3 separate regions of the Homo sapiens genome follow, and regions 2 and 3 are each linked to region 1. Evidence: promoter capture Hi-C in 16 types of primary human blood cells and fetal thymus (Javierre and others, 2016). All regions are on one chromosome and are shown on one strand. The core of a region is centred on a gene start or on the middle of the fragment in contact, and the rest is flanking DNA. Distances in the headings are between cores, read along the strand shown.

Region 1 (2,622 bases), core at 123-2,622:
AGAAACTGTACTCTATGAAACGTGTTTTATGAAAACATCTTTTACAAAAAGTGCTTACTTGACTAACTCAGCAAGAAAGGTTTAATGTACACATTTCACATCTAAAATCAAAACCTACAAGAAACTGCACTGCCTTCACTATTTACAAATCGGCCTACAAGGAAAAAATTATTCTCATGAGAGGTGTGACAAACACTAATTTTCCTTAACAGCCAATATCTACATGCAGGCCTAAATTAGAAAAAGGCAATGGATTAATCCCAGAGACCTATATATAGAAAATCACAAGAGTGAAACCGTGTCTCAGAGTTAAAGAAACCAGGGACTAACAGAAATTCTTGAGCATGCAGGACGGCAGATAAAAAACAACTTGCTAAATAAAACGCCTAAACTTCTTCCATTGTGAGATTAAAAAACAAAACAAAACAAAACAAAGCAAACTGGCTGAAAGTGGTTAGTACTAACACGGATGGCTACCTGGAGTCTGTACAAAATGAGCTTGCTGGCGTCACAGCTTGAATCTTTCCCCATGTTTCACACTGACTCCCTCCAAAATTTGCACATGCGACCCATGAAGGGACATGAAGAGGTAACTGCGAACGCCAGAGGATTTTCCAGATGGCTTCTTTCCTTCCACCAATCACCTACTAATCCCAGAATCCACCCCCTAAACGTTTTCTAATAAAAATACTGTCTTAAAGCCAACACAGGGAGACAGATTAGAGCTATACTCCTGTCTCCTTGTTAGCTGACTCACAATGAAAACTTTTCTCAAAAAATCAGCGCCATAATATTGGCTTCTGTGCGTATAGGGCAACAAGCCCCGTTTGTTTGGTAACAAGATTAGGATGCCATTACAAAGTGCTGTTTCTCTTTCTTTCCCCAGATTTGAGATTTCCAGGCGCTTTCCCTGTCCCTGTATCTGTTCATCTTCTGCATCATTCTCTTCTCCATATCCACACCATTCTTCCATCTTTCCCATTTCTTTCTTAACTGTAAAACAGAATGCATGATTCAAAATATTTGTAGTTCTCTGTTACTTAAAGTGAAAGTTATCTTTAAAAAAAAACAAACCCAACCAAACCAAACGATGCAAATCAGGTAGTTTGTAGTGATATTTATGTGAGGTTGGATTTGATTTTAAGGTTGAGAAAAAGTTTTTCCAAATTTGATTTACACAGTTGTGGGATGAAGGGTAAGCAATCGGAGAAAATGTGAGAATTGCCTATATTAATACACATCCACACACCCAGGCCTGCACAGACTCGTTGGTCCTGGAGAGTAAACGCATTCCTCCCAAACCCAGCAGCGCCTGGCAGGACAGAGGCGGGCGGGGACCTGGCTCAGGGGGCGGCTGCCTCGCCAGGCGCCACGAAGCCCCGGCGTCCCACAGGTCCCGGAGGCCGCTGCGTCGCGGGGAGCTGGGCTCGGGCCGCCGGCGGTTGCGCCGGGGCAGCCCCGCGGGGAGAGCACCATGAGGACTGACTCGGGGGCTCGGCTGGAGGAGGGCCACCTGGTGAGCGGCGAGGGGCGCGTCGGCCTCGAGAGGTGGCGGGTAAACAGCTACACTTGGCAGTGGGGGTGGGTGTGTGTGGGGGGGCGCCAACGAGCTGGGAATCACTAAGGGAGGGCCTTGCTCGTGGGGTGCGCGCATCCGCCCCTCCAGTGTTCACAGGAATGGGACGGAGACGCAGGCGAGGCCGGGACCGAACTCCCGGAGTGGGAGAGAGAGGCCTGGCATGAAGTTTGCGGGGACCTGAGCCCGCGTTGCCACGACGACGCCTCACTCATCTGAGGCCCGGGGCCCGGCGGGTGCCGGGGCTTCCAGCCAGGCCTCTCCTAGACTCCTCCGAGGAGAGGTCTGTAGCTGCCCAGAAGAGATCTGTTCGCCTGCGGAGTCCTTTAATTAAGGTCTTCCGTCACGCCCCGCTTCCCGCAAACAAATCACCGCCACCACTTAGGAAACCACGGGAAAGCTGTGATTGCAGCGCCACGGTCGCCAGATTTCTGCTCCTGGGCACATTACCCCCAACTCCGAGGCCCCCTTTTTGGCAGGGCTAGTCTGGACTGGCCAATCCAGGTCCCTGCACGCCTCTCACCGCAACATCCCCGCAGGGCGCTGCGCGCGGGGTACTAGCCAGGCGGCGCGGCCCGATGACGCATTGCGCCTGCGCGCGCGACCGAGCCGGGAGGGGTGGGGCGCCAGGTGCTTGGGGGCCGGCGGCCGCCGAGGCCGGCTAAACGCAGAATGGGGAAGAATCCTGTGGTAAGCGAGCCTTAGCTACTTTTAATTGTTAGGATTTTTGTCTTCAGTTGAGCCGTCCTACTTTTGAGGATTAGAGGTTGGGTCTCTGGGTGGGTGGAACGTCATTTTTGCGGGACTTTTGAAATCAGTTACGTGAACAGAGCCCTGGGATCGATCGCGCGCGCTTCGTAGCATCTTTAGAACAATAGCGCGTTCCTGTGACTGTCATTCTTCTCCAATTGTAATTTTGACTACTGGATGGTATTACGGCAGCTTGCCTCGTCCTAATCTTGTAGTACTTGCATTAATCTACTGTTCGAACGAATGGATTGCTAAATGGGACAAACTACAAGAGTGTCTAAAATTTAACCCTTTTG
Region 2 (2,622 bases), core at 43-2,542, 590 kb before region 1:
GGTGCAGAGCTGTCGCCTCTTTACTGTACTTTCCCGTTTCTTACTCGGGATTGGTTCATCCTAGCTCTCCAGTTGTAAGAGAGCATTCATAATAACCAAGAAAGAAAATAGAACTAAACTGCTAGAGCAACAAAAAGCATCTCACCTGGGCATTAACCTGAGGAAGTCTCATATTTTTGAGGAAAAGCATAGGAAAACTTTGTGTATGTAGAGTCGTTGCAGAATATTTGCAGAAAGTTGCCTGGTAAGGCAAAGTGCTCCAGCTCACTGTTAGTATCAATAATTTACTTGGGATTTGCACTTAATCAGGAGTGATCGATTTCCCCTTTTCTTCCTCATCCTGTTCTAATTAAACAACTTTATGGCTAGTTTTTAATTCATAAAGTTTTTGTCTGGTCTTTTGTTTGCTCAGACGACTTTGACTTTTTTTTTTTTTTGAGACGGAGTCTCGCTGTGTCGCCAGGCTGGAGTGCAGTGGTGCGATCTCCACTCACTGCACCCTCCCGCCTCCTGGGTTCAAGCAATTTTCGGGCCTCAGCCTCCCGAGTAGCTGGGATTACAGGCACTCACCACCAGGCACTCACCACCACACCTAGCTAATTTTTGTATTTTTAGTAGAGACGGGGTTTCACCATATTGGCCAGGCTGGTCTCGATCTCCTTACCTCGTGATCCGCCCACCTCGGCCTCCCAAAGTGCTGGGATTACGGGCGTGAGCCACCGCGCCCAGCCGACTTTGACTTTTTACATTATTTTTGGACTTTTACTCATTTAATGGTAGTTATTCAGAAAACTATTTTTCATTCAACTCCACGATGTACTTGAACTTTTAAATTTAACACACCTATTCCCTTGGCTTTTAACCCAGTTTTGTACCATTTCGTGAGAGCAAGTGAGGTTTTTGCAGATTGGTACTATTGTACAAAATGTACACTTAACATTTTAAAGCTTAACCATAATCTAGATGAATTTTGGATGGATCTACTTACTAATAATCTAGATTAATTCCCAAGTGGGCATTGTGTTTCCCTAGGTAGTTGTTTACTTGGTTACTAGGAAGAAAAGTATAGGCGTAAATGCTTAGTTTCGTCAGCCTTTTATTTTGTTTCCCAGAAGCGTCTAGGAAGCATTTTGAAATTTATTGTAGACTGATGGAAGAGCAACATAAAGAAATAATTATAAAATGTAGAATTTATTGCTCCATTTTGAAGTCAGGTTATTTAAGAGATACATAAAGAAATGAAGGACCTAGGATACAAATAGATTCTTTTATTTCATGTTCATACTAGGACATTATTTGTCTTTTTCACTGTCATTCTTTCATGAGTGTTCAATGGACGTTTCTAGAAACTAACATGACTTGTGATAAAACAAATTAAATGTGGAAGCAGATGTGAAAATCCAGCTGTTTAGCTGTTTTTATTAAGCCAGACATTAAAGAGATTTGCAAAAATGTGTAACAGTCCCACTCTTTCATTAATTTTGTTTTGAAAAATATTTTTAATAAAAATATATATTTGTTAACATATAACAGGTTTGTTGGTATTTTAAAATGAATTAATATTTAAGACATTTCTCAGTTTTCAGTGTTTAATACTGTAAACATCAATAGATGTAACCAACCTAACAAAAGCTTTATGGGATTCTAAATAAATTTAAGTGTAAGATTCCTGAGAACAAAAAGTTTGAGAACTGTTGCTGTAGGCTGATTGACCAACATCATTAGGACTCGCCGGGTGCAGTGGCTTAAGCCTGTAATCCCAGCACTTTGGGAGGTCAAGTTGGGTGGATCACGAGGTCAGGAGTTCTAGACCAGCCTGACTAACATGGTGAAACCCCGTCTCTACTAAAAATACAAAAAATAGCCAGGCGTGGTGGTGCGCACCTGTAATCCCAGCTACTCAGAAGGCTGAGGCAGGAGAACTGCTTAAACCCGGGAGGCGGAGGTTGCAGTAACTGGAGATCACTCCACTGCACTCCAGCCTGGGCGACAGAGTGAGACTCCGTTTAAAAAAAAAAAAAAGACTCAGTACATTGGCCGGGTGCAGCGCCTCACACCTGTAATCCTGGCACTTTGGGAGGCCTAAGTGGGGGAGGATTGCTTGAGCCCAGTTTGAGACCAGCCTGGGCAATATAGAGAGACGTCGTCTCTACAAAAAATAAAATTAGCCAGGCATGATGGCCTGTACCTGTAGTCCCAGCTACTCAGGAGGTTGATATGGGAGGATCACCTGAGCCTGCGAGGTCGAGGTTGCAGCAAGCCAAGATCATGCCACTGTACTTCAGCCTGGGCGATAGAGACCCTGACTCAAAACAAAGAAGACCCAGTACAAGTTCAGTGTTGAGTGCTAAAGACTTAAAAGAGTTATAAAGCTGAACCCTTAATCTTAAGAGGTTTATAAGTGAGAACAAGAATCTCCAAATCCTGTACTGTTTAATATCAGCATGAGACTAAACCACTGTCCTAAGAAGACAACCTTAATTTGAATCAAGTTATTTTAGAGTGATGTGTTTTCTGAGGCAGCTCTCAGAAGGTTATTGTCTGGTGTTAAAATAGTGAAATTGAGTAATAACAAGGTTAAAATCGGTGGACATTAAATACACACAAGACTTCAATTGCTGG
Region 3 (2,622 bases), core at 43-2,542, 570 kb after region 1:
CAGAAAAAAATACACATGCACTCTGAACCCATTTATATAGATTGAAATGCCTAACAATTCATTTTTTAGGAATTCATCATAGACGGAAAAATTAAAGTAAAACAAGTGAGTGCTTAGCACAAGTCAGGATAATGGTTACCTCTTGGTGGAGGAGATGGAATCACAGAAACATACTGGGAGATTCTAAGGCAGTGTTTTTCAACCAATTTTTAACTATTGTCCCTGTAAGGAACCTTTCTAGACATTTTATTCCTAATCACACCCCCCGCCATGAAAATTTAACACTACATATATACTGTATAACTGTTTATATACTGTGGCCCTTTGGAGGGACACAAATCATTGTAGTAACTAAGATTCCGACCCCGGCCCCACCAATTTTCAACCCCTTGAAATGTAAAATCACCCCTGTTAAGACTGCATGTTCTAAGTTATTGGCAATGCTTTATTTTCTAATCTAAGAGGTGGATACAGGAGTGTCTGCTTCTGTTAGTTATAATTTTTTAAAATGTATGTTTTATACACCCTTCTGTATATATACTTGACAATAAAAAATAAAAATAGAAAAATTGACTTAAATTGTGCTGAGGACTGAAAAATGGTGGTTATTTCCGTTTCAGAGCAGCTCAAATAATAACAGTAAGGAAATTAGTTAAATAAAGAAAAAACATGCAACCAAAAATTTTAAAAGCTATCTATGTCTGAAGTGAATCTAAAAGTCTCATGAAGATCAACCTCCACTAAAGGAAGCTGGCTCTAAGAAAATGTGCTGGTATCCTTTCCCTAAGAAAGAAATAAGAAGATAATGCTACTTCCACTACATGCAATTTTAGTTTACCGAAGACTATCAAGTATATATCTTAACTTCCTCGTATTAAAAACTGTGATTATATGAATATTAGAACATAAAAAACAAATGAACTGTTATTACTTTTAGTGATGCTGTTCTTCTGCCTTTGCGATCCAAAGGCAAACAAAGACAATTTTGCGTGTGGCAGAAGCGGGAACAAGCACCTGGATTTAACAACTACAGTAATGATCACTGAATCCTCCAACCACCTCTTCCTACCCCAACTCTAAACTAGGACTTCATTAGTTCTCGCCTGCTAGTTCTTTGATCTCCCTCCCAGCCTCCCATCCTTCTCCATTTAGTCTCTCCTTTTCTGCACTCCCCAGAATAGAGTCTAGCTCTTAATCCTAATCAACGGGCCTCCCACCAACTCCCTAATTTACCTGACAGCAATCTGACCTCTCAGGACACTCAACTCTGCAACCGGAGCCAACCGGAAACGGAGGTTGTCACCTCGAGTTTCTCACGGCAGGAAAGCGGAGAAGCCGCTTAACGTTCCGATACTGGGTTAGAGATTCCTGAATCAGGTAGAGACTACATGAGGGACGCTGGAAGTCGATTATTTTCCCAGTATATGTGCATCCTCAATCTGACTGAGGTAACAGATACTGTAGAAAAGAGAAGGGCGGGGAAGATAATATGTTGTCCTTGCTTGGGGACGGAATCCTTAGACACCGCACACAGGGCGGGGCTGCCGGCATACTGCAGCCAATAAGGGAGGCTGTTGTTGAGAGCGTGTTCTCACCCAATGAGAGGGTTGGTTGTTGCGCTGCAGTTGGCAGGCTGCTGCGGGAGGCGGCGGCGGTAGGAAGCCGGAGACAGCAGGGTGACAGGTAGGCGGCGGTGCTGTCTTTGGGGGAGGCAAAGTGCTAGATGAAGAGGGGTTTTCTTCTCCTTCGGCCGCGGAAACTACAGACGGGAGCTGGCGAGGGTGGTCTGGAAAGGCGGTAGCCGGTGTGTTGGTGGTCCCGGAACCTCTCGTAAACCAGGTAGCATCTTGGGAGGGTCGTGAGGAGGAGAAGGCGGCAGCCGAGGCGGGTGGAAGCCGAGCCTTGTGGGGCGACGTGGGGGCCCACCTAGGGCGTGGGGGCTGCGGTGGCGCCAGCAGAGAGGGAGGAGAGGCGGGAGCAAGGCGGTGTCGTGAGGGCTGAAGGGATTCTTTGCACAAAGCCCCAGGCGAGAAAAGGACACGGCATTGAAGACAGTTAAGAGAAATCCCAGTGATTGCTTCTTAGGGCCATTTCCTGGGGGTGGTGAGGGGGAGCGGAGAAGAAAAATATTTACTGGCGGTCAGATTCTGAACACTCATTATTGCTGTACATTATGTAATCTTTGGCTGTTATTTACCCAAACAACTAGGTTGTCCCTCCTGGGAGAGGAGGTCTTGCAACCTATTAATGTGTTAGAACACTTTTTTCATTGGCTTGAGTGCCATTTACATTGGCAGGTTCTCTAGGCGAAGGGTGGTAGCATGGAGGATAGAGTAGTCACGAAGAGCTTATCCCAATTATGGACTTGACAGATACTAGTTTGCGATGAATGTGGCCAGGTTCATGTTTTGTAGTTCGTGAATTTATTTGAGGGTCAAGGCTGACAACATTTTTTAAAGATCTTCAGAAAAGTGGGGAATCCTTTAAAAATGTACAGTAGGAGCTCAGTGTAAGTTGGAAAATGACTAGAAAATTAGTTGGTAGATCCCTTCCTCCCCCCAGGATATTGTGGAAGTTAGGGACTGTGCAAATAAGGTGGTGGTCTGAATATGGGGAAAAAAA

What was found. The method cuts DNA at HindIII sites, captures the fragments that hold promoters and counts their contacts. A CHiCAGO score of 5 or more calls a contact.
Region 2: a contact is called between a fragment that was not itself captured here and the fragment with the promoter of TMEM237 in region 1, in 1 of 17 cell types (fetal thymus). The highest score is 5.2, in fetal thymus.
Region 3: the fragment with the promoter of NDUFB3 here is called in contact with the fragment with the promoter of TMEM237 in region 1 in 9 of 17 cell types (naive CD8 T cells, fetal thymus, monocytes and 6 more); the score reaches 15.3 in naive CD8 T cells.

The regions. Positions count from the first base shown.
Region 1 is chr2:201,642,253-201,644,874 of GRCh38, reverse strand. TMEM237 (transmembrane protein 237) reads left to right here and starts at 1,372. Exons shown (of 13, transcript NM_001044385.3): 1 at 1,372-1,516. The coding sequence starts at 1,475. MPP4 (MAGUK p55 scaffold protein 4) reads left to right here. Exons shown (of 22, transcript NM_033066.3): 22 at 1. RefSeq lists silencers at 1,254-1,513, 2,084-2,273. The HindIII fragment of the contact is 8,699 bases long and covers 1-2,622 here.
Region 2 is chr2:202,235,215-202,237,836 of GRCh38, reverse strand. The region is part of intron 1 of SUMO1 (small ubiquitin like modifier 1); the gene reads left to right. Among named protein-coding and RNA genes, the nearest start is that of SUMO1, 2.1 kb to the left of the region's middle. The HindIII fragment of the contact is 685 bases long and covers 950-1,634 here.
Region 3 is chr2:201,070,671-201,073,292 of GRCh38, reverse strand. NDUFB3 (NADH:ubiquinone oxidoreductase subunit B3) reads right to left here and starts at 1,292. Exons shown (of 3, transcript NM_002491.3): 1 at 1,234-1,292. HYCC2 (hyccin PI4KA lipid kinase complex subunit 2) reads left to right here and starts at 1,622. Exons shown (of 13, transcript NM_001321623.1): 1 at 1,622-1,683. RefSeq lists enhancers at 770-1,393, 1,530-1,619, 1,640-1,909, 1,394-2,019, 2,010-2,149. The HindIII fragment of the contact is 13,158 bases long and covers 1-2,622 here.